2 separate regions of the Homo sapiens genome follow, and region 1 is linked to region 2. Evidence: promoter capture Hi-C in 16 types of primary human blood cells and fetal thymus (Javierre and others, 2016). All regions are on one chromosome and are shown on one strand. Each heading gives the region's core, a stretch centred on a gene start or on the middle of the fragment in contact. The rest is flanking DNA. Distances are from core to core; before and after follow the strand shown.

Region 1 (5,032 bases), core at 1,865-4,364, about 11 Mb after region 2:
AAATGCTTCCTCTGTTCCATATAGATCACACAATTCCTATTTCACAGCACTGATATAGAAAACGTTTAAGGTTTTAAGGACTGAAAAATCAAATAAAATACTTTTTCTATATTCACACAAAACCCATTGTGTTCCATTATATCAGTTGAAGTTCTATGATATAGGCCAACTTTAAAAAGTTACAGAAACTCATATTTAAGACTCAAACAAATTTTGTGGATTATTCACGGGAAGTTCTCTTTTAAGTCCAAAGATACAGCACTTTCAATGGCAGATTCCTCCTACTACCCAAATGACATAAAGAAAACCTACAGTAATTTCAACACAAGCACATGCTTACTATAAGTGACAAAGCAAATTAATTTTAAAGAACTGCTTGGTTCATTCCCAGACTAAATAAAAGCAACTTGAATTATCCACAGCACTATTTCTCTAAGTAAACCAGTTGCCTATCCCATAATAACAAAATTCCTAATTATGGAAAGCATAGCTTTTCCCTATCCTATGAGAACAGTATGAAATCTAAAATAAAATTTCAAGTTATTAACGAAACAAAACAAACAAAAACACGCAAGATATCAAAGGAATACTGGCATGCAGCATTAGGTCTTTGGCTCAATATAAGTGAGTCTAACTTCATTATGATTTCACAGTTAATTTAAAAGACTGCAAGTACCCATTAAAACTTTAAGACCTAGGAAGCCGGGCACAGTGGTGCATGCCTGTAGTCCCAGCTACCCAGGAGACAGAGGTGAGAGGATCGCTTGAGCTGGGGAAGTCAAGGCTGCTGTGAGTCGTGATTGCACACTGTGCTCCAGCTTGGGCAAAAGTATGAGACCCCATCTCTAAACAAACAAACAAACCAAAAAAATAAAAATAAAATGAATAAACAACAACAACAAAAAACCTTCTGAAACCTATAAATTAACAGGAACACTTCAAAATAATCAATCACATCACCTTATTTTCTCCCTTCACAGAATCTAATAATAAGGATTTTAGTCTAATGTCTTAAAGTCAAAAGGGAAAAATAAATAACATTTATTAAATACCTATCACGTGTGAGACACTGATAATTACACACATAGTCTCATTTAACTGCCACAGCAATTCTATAAAATTACTAGTGCTATCCCCATTTTATTTACGGAGAAACTGAGCTACCGGATGTCATCTGAAGGTAAGGGATGCCTCTGGTTAATTCAGTCGAGTGACTTGTCCAAGACGGTAAAGTCAGGACTACAACTTAAGTGGTTTGACTATTAGTTTAGAACTGTTACAGCACAGTTGCTTCTGGAAGTTGCAGAAATCATAACCCTGATGTCACTAAGATGTTAACAAATGTTCTGAGAAATAAGTACTCTGTGGTTCAGTTTTTGGAGAAGTTACATCCGAATTTTCCAGAACTTAAATAGGCAAATTCTTCTTCAAAAAAGTAATAAAATGGGAAGTGTTCTAATTTATTAAACCATGAAACCCTCTGTTTTAACGAAAACCTAATAATATACCATGGGATGCTTGTGTTCAACTAAGCAGTCTGGAAAATGATCATCTGGTCCAATCTCCTCATTCCATGGTTTTAAAAAATGAGATGCAGGGAGGTGAAGTGACAGCAAGATACTAACAGGGTCAGGGCTGGCACCAAGGAGGCCTGATGATTCCCATCAGGATACCCTTTCCCCTAATCATCCTGTCTCACTCTTTCTACAAAGTTTAACACCAATTTTTTTTTAAGTATTACATCAATCATTTATTCTGATTTTACTGAATGACAGTAAAGAGAAACCATTTACAGACATGAAGCTCGAAAATGTTCTACCTCCCAATGCACTAGTATTTCAGAGACTTGGAATATATTTGGAGATGTGGAAAATGATTACACTTTAGTAACACTGAGTAACAATTTTAGGCCAAGTATACTACACTCATATTTTTTTTGAAGTGAGACATTAGTCCACCCTAGTACTGCATACAGACACACTGAGTAATAAATATCCAATCTGTGATCATCTTTATAAAGGGCAATTTATTCGTTGCTTTCCCCTTACCCCATTCGCCCTAGAGTGGCTTCGTTTCACTTTGCCCTACCCCTTCTAGCAGGTAGTAAACAGTCCTGGCCAGTGATGCCATCTGGCGGTTAGTTCAGAAATTGTTTAACCAACACACCTTCCAATCAGGATCTTACCATCGGGACCCTCTCCAAAACCACACTCCCCTTTCTTCCAGTTTTTGCCCATTTACCTTAGTAAAATCGGGTTTTCTTCTTTCCTGCCCTGTTTATCCAACTGAATGAAAAACGTATTTTATTTGTGGCACTCTAGTTACAGAAAAATCATGAGTCCTAAGTACATTTGCAGCTAAAGAAACAAACCAACAATAAGAGGCCAACATACTCCCAAAAATGCCCCCATTCGACATCCTGTCTTAACAGAGACTGTTAGAATCTCCGTTATTCATCCAATGCCTTCAGGGAATACCAGTGCTGAGAAGGACCTTGAGGATCATCGTTTCAAGGTCAAAAGCTTCATTTTACAGCTGAAGAAACTGGCTCTGTGAGAAAGAACTGAAGTAACCACCCACCCAACAGCACACAGCGAGTTAACGGCAGAGCCAAGATTATGGCCTAGGACTCCCCATTCCAAATCCGGTACTGGGTCAACTACTCTGTGCGCTCCTGGCTTCTCAAGCCTGTTTTTGCTCAACCAGTGTATTTACTTTTTCCATAATTATAGTAATATTGTGAATCTCTGTACTATGCCTAACAGTGTCTAGCACACTTCATAAATATTTATTATTTGGGTATCTATTAATTACCGTACTTATTGCAAATCTAGAATACTTGCAGTAGACAGGCCTTTTTTCAATCTGCTTAAAAAGCGAACTGCCACTTCATAATTTTTTCTGACTATTCCCATTAATCATCACATGGTAACCTTTTAGAACATAATCCATTCAGAAATTTGAGACTTCCTGTTCACCTGATCAGTCTTAACCAAAGATAGAAGAAAATATGTGGCATAGGGTGAAAACTGCAACCAATTTTGAAGAAAATAGAAATTCTAGTACTAGTTGCATTATAATCACACGACTTTAGGCAAACTCTTCTTTCCCACAAAATAATCCTCGACCCTAAACTCATGTAGCATAACTGCAAATCTCTCATAAATTACAAATATCTATAATGATTATCGGTATTAACAATAGTAATTTATATTTTAGGCCCTGTGACTAATCAGTTTACATATATAATGTCATGTAATACTTGCAGCCCTATTTTACGGATGAGAAAAAACAAGGCTTAGCAACTTAAACTCGTCCGGGGTCACAGAGTTAAGACGTGAAGAACTCGAGGGCCTGCTTAGAACTGAAAGCCTCCAGAGCCAGTGCTCCGAAAAGGGGAGCGATAATGCAAGGCCCACTTTGATACTACCACTCCAAGGCTCTGCAGTCAGTGGGGAGTGAAGGCAAGCGACCGACATCGCTATTTTCTGTTACGGTTAACGTACACAGTGAAACAATGGGGTACACGGAACAATGAGTCACGAAGACCTGGGTCCTTTCTCTGAGCTCGGCAACTCAGGGACCCCCCCGAAGTCGCTTAGCCTTCTGGGCTTGTTCAGCTTGGGGAGGAAAAGGGGCTGCTCCGGAACCAACGAGGCTTTGGATGGTGGATCACACTCAGGGTGTAAACTTGTGCGTACCAAGTCAAGCTTCTGGGGAAAGAACCTTCATCAGAGTCCCTCCAAAAAAAGAAGACGCGCTGGATTAGGCATCCGCAAAGTTCCGCCTGCCTCTCCGACGTCAGGGAGCTCCCGCAGTAGGAGGTTTCTTACGCCTCTAGGAAGGCCGGCGTGTGGGCGGGCTCTGCCTTCCCTTCCTCACTGAGTTGTGTGAACCGGGAACGGCGGCCGGGCCGGCTAATGGCTGCAGGCCGCCGCGGGGTGGCCGCTTGCACTCTGCCTACCCCTCGGGGAGGGCGGCTGGCAGGGCACAGGGCGCTATCTACCCCCCAGCCGGCAGCCCTGCGCCTCTGCTCTCCGCTTTGGGGTCTTGATCCGCCGCCTCCTCGCTGGCAGTTCTCGTGACTCGGTGCGCGCTCCCGCGGGAAGTAAGGTGGCCTGGACCGCGCGGCTACCGCTGAGGGCCCCAAAAAGAGAGAAGGGAGACCGCGCGGGGCGTCCCAAGTGTCCCCCATTCCATCCCCCACCCAGGTTTCTCCGGTGCGCCGCTCGGCGAACCTCCGGGAGCTACTTACTAAAGAAGAGGCGGTAATTCTGCGAGCAGGGCTGGCCGCGCTCCTCAGTGTGGTACAGGGCCATAGCACGGCGCGACCCGGTCCCTGCACTGGTCCCCAACCGCAGGCACGCAGCGGCTGGGGCACCCGTGCGCAGCAGCCGCAGCAGCGCGCTCATGGCGTCAATGACGGTCCTGCTGTGCGCGCGGAGCTACCTGGGGGCTCGGCCGGGCCGCACGCCGGTGCCCCCTACCGTCCGGAGTCATCCCTCCCGCCCCGGCGCTCGGGCTGCGATCCTGGTCCCTGCCAGTGGAATCTGGAACACCAGCCAGTTGTGCGCACTATGCCCTCAGCGAGGCCGCAGCTCAAAGACGAGTGAGACAAGACCCACCACCCCTGAAGAGCTCACTGCCACTCGTTAATTCATACATTTATTCATGCCTTCATTTATCCCGTCAAGAATTACTATCATGATTTTTTAGTATAGTGATGTAATATTGAGTGATTACTCTGTGCCAGGAACTGCTCTAGACCCTGTCCAATATAGGAGATGAGCGCACATGCACGCAAAGACATCACTATAAGACAAAATGATCAGGCCACCACGTGAAAACGGGACGTTGACACCGACTTACAGAGCAAAAAACCCTAAGTAGCTTACTCAAATGCCATCTTCTCCATAAGGCCATTTCCTAACCCAGTAGAGATTATTTATTCTTTCTTTTATTTTATTATTTTTTGTTGTTGTTTTGTTTTTGAGACGGAGTCTCACACTGTTGCCTGGGCTGGAATGCAATG
Region 2 (4,492 bases), core at 1,512-4,011:
GATCCTCCCACCTCAGTCTCCCAAAGTGCTAGAATTACAGGCATGAGCCGCTGTGCCTGGCCATAAGTAAATATATTCTTTGATCACATAATTTAATATGCATGCATAAAACTAATGCATTTCATGGGATATTAAAGATAGGTATAAAGGAAGTCCTAATTGTTCAGGCTTTGATCTTGAGTTTTATTGGCCCAGACACCTGATTTTATAAATGTGCCCACATTTGATAAAACTGTGGGTATGTGTTGTAAATATACAATTCACAACACTGACTTATAAAACAAACTGGCAATTTAAGTTTACAATGGCTAATATATCTGGCAGAATGATCATTTGTAGCAATTCCTCTTTATGGGAAATGCCAACCAGAAGCTCAAATTATAACTCAGAAAATTGCTTGTCTAATGTTGGAACAAAGGGAGTATATCTTAGTTTTTTGTTTTTTTGAGACAGGGTCTTGCTCTGTCACCCAGGCCAGAGTGCAGTGGTGCAAACATGGCTCACTGCAGCCTCGACCTCCCAGGCTCAAGTGATCCTCCTGCCTCAGCCCCCAAAGTAGCTGGGACTACAGACGTGTGCCATCATGCCTGGATAACTTTGTATTTTTTTTAGAGATGGGGTCTCACTATGTTGCCCCAGCTCTGCCTTGGCCTCCCAAAGTGCTGGGATAACAGACGTGAGCCACTGCTCCTAGCCCAGGAGTATATATTCTTTGTTTTTTTGAGATGGAGTTGCCCAGGCTGGAGTGCAATGGCGTGATCTCGGCTCACTGCAAGCTCCGCCTCCCTGGTTCATGCCATTCTCCTGCCTCAGCCTCCCGAGTAGGTAGGACTACAGGCGCCCGCCACCACGCCCGGCTAATTTTTTGTATTTTTAGTTGAGACGGGGTTTCACCGTGTTGGCCAGGATGGTCTCGATCTCCTGACCTCATGATCCGCCCGCCTCCACCTCCCAAAGTGCTGGGATTACAGGCGTGAGCCACTGCGCCCGGCCAGGAGTATATATTCTTAAGCTAACATTTCCATCAAGATAGGTGAATTATATGCAAAAGAAAGGAAATCAGTGTATCGAAATGATATCTGCATTCTCATGTTTGTTGCAGCACTATTCACAACAGCCAAGATTTGGAAGCAACTTAAGTGTCCATTAACAGGTGAATGAATAAGAAAAATGTGGTGCATATACACAGTGGAGTATTATTTCGCCATTAAAAAAAATGAGATCCTGTCATTTGCAACATGGATGGAACTGGAGGTCATTATATTAAAGGAAATAAGGCAGGCACAGAAAAAAAACTTGGTATGTTCTCATTTATTATATTTGTGGGAGCTAAAAAATTAAAACAATTGAACGTATGAGAAACGGTAGAACGATGGCTACCAGAGGCTGGGAAGGGTAGTGTGGGGCGGGGGAGGACCCCGGTGGTCGGTGAGCATGGTTAATGGGTACGAAAATACAGTTTGAATGAATAAGATCTAGTATTTGATAGCACAATAGCATGACTACAGTCAACAACAATTTATTGTACTTTTTTTTTTGAGACAAGAGTCTTGCTTTGTTGCCCAGGGTGGAGTGCAGTGGAGTGATCTCGGCTAACTGCAACCTCCGCATCCCAGGTTCAAGCTATTCTCCTGCCTCAGCCTCCCGATTAGCTGAGATTACAGGCGCCCGCCACTACGCCCGGCTAATTTTTTGTATATTTAGCAGAGACGGAGTTTCACCATGTTGGCTAGGCTGGTCTCAAACTCCTGACCTTGTGATTCACCTGCCTCAGCCCCCCAAAGTGCTGGGATTACAGGCGTGAGCCACCACTCCCAGCTTATTGTACATTTTTAAATGACTAAAATAACTGGATTGTTTGAAACACAAAGGATAAATGCTTGTTATGGATACCCCACTTACCCTGATATGATTATTACACATTGCATGCCTGTATCAAAATATCTCATGTACCCTATAAATATGTACACCTACTATGTACCCGCAAACATTAAAAATTAAAATATTTTTAAAAAATTAATTAATTAATCAAATTCCATTCTAAGAACAATCAAGCCGAAAGTGAGGAATTACTTTAAATGCTTTGAAGCTCAGCATCCCGGGGTTCTTATCCGTCACTAATTACCTATACATTTGCAGGTCTCAGTTTCTTTGCTTTGTAAACATAGGCTTCTTGTAAGGATTGGGATTATACACTGAAAAAGCTTAGCACAGTATTATTACTATTATGCTATCTACATTATATTATAGGTGAAACACTACAGATTATAATACATACAATATATACTAATTGTATTATATATTGTTATTTTTTGTCATTATGCTATTTACTATTGTTCTATTTAATAACTCTCTAGATAATTTAACAGGACAAAGGTACAGAACAATCTGGCCCTTACAAGCCGGCGGAGACGGGTACGAATTACCATGACAACAGCGCGCGCCTCGACATTGTCGGCTCGCGCGTTGTTTGGGAAGAAAAAGCCTAGGCTGCGTGTTGCGTCATCATTACGCGCTCTTAAGGTTTCTCCGTGGTGTTTTGGAAGGTCCCGGCACGGCTACCGTCGCCCCACGCTAGGAAATTTTTTTTTTATTTTCAACCTTTGTTACATAGCACTGAGGCTACAAGATCGTAAGTACTGAGGGAAGAAAGAACAAGCGAGCGATTGAACGTTAAAAAGATGCCTTAGCATGCACTCCACCTCTGAACCTTCCTGTGTGTTCTTAATCCTATCAGCTTCCTCTCAGCTGGGATCGCGCCGCGTCAACTTCCGGGCGGATGCCCGCCAGCACGGCCTCCGCCGCTCCCCTTCTTTGGCCCCTTTGTGTCCCCGCAGTGTCGAGGCGCGGGCCCTGGCAGGTCCTTTCTCGAGGCAGGGGGCACGGTAGCACAGGGAGCTTCTCTTTGTGGGCGGGCGCGAGGCCCGCTAGGGGGTTATACTGGGGAACGTGCCTGCGCGTGCTTGGGTAAGAGGAGGTTGCATGAGGGTCAGCTCGTGGTTTCAGTAAGGAGGGGCGGGCGGGGGAGGCGGACGAAGGGGAGTGAAAAGCAATGGAAAATTTTAAAAGATACCCCCGTCCACCTTCTAATTGTTGCGGCCTAACAATGAAGCGCAGCCATAACAGTCCTGAGCCACTGGCATGTTTGCGGGCCCTTTATTGCCTTGGGAATAAACTGCTGTGGCATTGTATCGTATATTGTTTTCATGGCCTTTTTTCCTCTCTTTATTTTTCCCCTGCAGATAGTTCATTTAAAGCCCCCATCCCTGCAAGGTGGTGCTTTCTACCAATATGAATCTTTTCAACCTGGACCGTTTTCGCTTTGAGAAAAGGAATAAGATTGAGGAAGCGCCCGAAGCAACCCCTCAACCTTCCCAGCCTGGCCCTTCTTCACCAATTTCTCTTAGTGCTGAAGAGGAGAATGCTGAAGGGGAAGTTAGCAGGGCAAACACTCCTGATTCAGATATAACTGAAAAAACAGGTGAGTTACAATGTTAAAATTGATGTAACATCAAGGACAGTTTTTAAAAGATGAAAGGCAGAAGGGATTCTCATTTTTATTCTTGATGTCATATATATTGATGCATTGTCCTGCGGTGTGCCCTTTTAAATACAGCTTTGGGACTGCCATAAGCACCATGTACCCTCAACTGAGCATCCATCCATTGTCGCCTCACTTTTATATGAGTTCTTCGAATATGGCCCCATGGTGGAAGTTGAAATTAGAATTTAGGGCATCCATAGGTCAGAACGGTTGCTATTGGAAGAGCGATGTCAGTGATTCAGTCCTATGATAAACTTTGAGGCTATTTGGGCAGACATTTTCATTCATTCCAGTATTCCCTCAAAATATTGATCATCTACTGTGAGCTAGACATTGAGCAAGGTGCCTAAAGACAACCTCTGTACACAAGGGAAGATCAGATCACATCAAGTTCTTGCATCCACCTGACTTCCTGGATGTCCTCAGAATGCAAATGAGTAATTGGTATTCTTCATGGTGAATGAACATTTTTAACCTCATCAGCAGATTGTCAGAGACAAAAGTATTTGAGGATAAGCCAAAAATTAAGATTTCCACTCGAATCTATGTTCATTGAACAGTTAACTATTAGAGGAATATATTTGAGCTCTTGTTGTATTATAGGAATAGTGATAAGTGCTTCACCTTCTGTCATTTAATTTGCACAATAATCCTACAAGGTAGATATTACTGACATAGAGGTTAATGTGAAATGAGATTCAGAGAGGTTATTAGGAACTTGGTAGAGCCTGAACTCAAGTCCTGGCAGTATGATTCCTGAGCATAAACTAATTAGTTAGTTTCTTAGGAAAGGTGAAAGGAATGTTGGAAGTTATATTTTAATATTTATTTCAGTAATATCTTTTTTTATGCAAAACTCTGTTTCGTAAACAGCTTTTAACTTAATGTAGCCTGAAAGATTGGTAACACACATGTTTATCCTTGGTATCTTTTTGTTTGCCACCCTTC

What was found. Contacts are between HindIII fragments. The CHiCAGO score rates a contact against its expected background, and 5 or more counts as called.
Region 1: a fragment that was not itself captured here is called in contact with the fragment with the promoter of SMARCAD1 in region 2 in 2 of 17 cell types (total B cells and naive CD4 T cells); the score reaches 7.1 in total B cells.

Annotation. Positions count from the first base shown.
Region 1 is chr4:105,469,639-105,474,670 of GRCh38, forward strand. PPA2 (inorganic pyrophosphatase 2) reads right to left here and starts at 4,424. Exons shown (of 12, transcript NM_176869.3): 1 at 4,256-4,424. The coding sequence starts at 4,412. RefSeq lists enhancers at 3,605-3,774, 4,065-4,184 and a silencer at 4,405-4,614. The HindIII fragment of the contact is 1,188 bases long and covers 2,521-3,708 here.
Region 2 is chr4:94,205,104-94,209,595 of GRCh38, forward strand. SMARCAD1 (SNF2 related chromatin remodeling ATPase with DExD box 1) reads left to right here and starts at 2,762. Exons shown (of 24, transcript NM_020159.5): 1 at 2,762-2,967; 2 at 3,243-3,481. The coding sequence starts at 3,292. It overlaps SMARCAD1-DT (SMARCAD1 divergent transcript), which reads right to left and starts at 2,453. Exons shown (of 9, transcript NR_125922.1): 1 at 2,427-2,453. RefSeq lists enhancers at 2,381-2,740, 2,839-3,342. The HindIII fragment of the contact is 2,630 bases long and covers 2,203-4,492 here.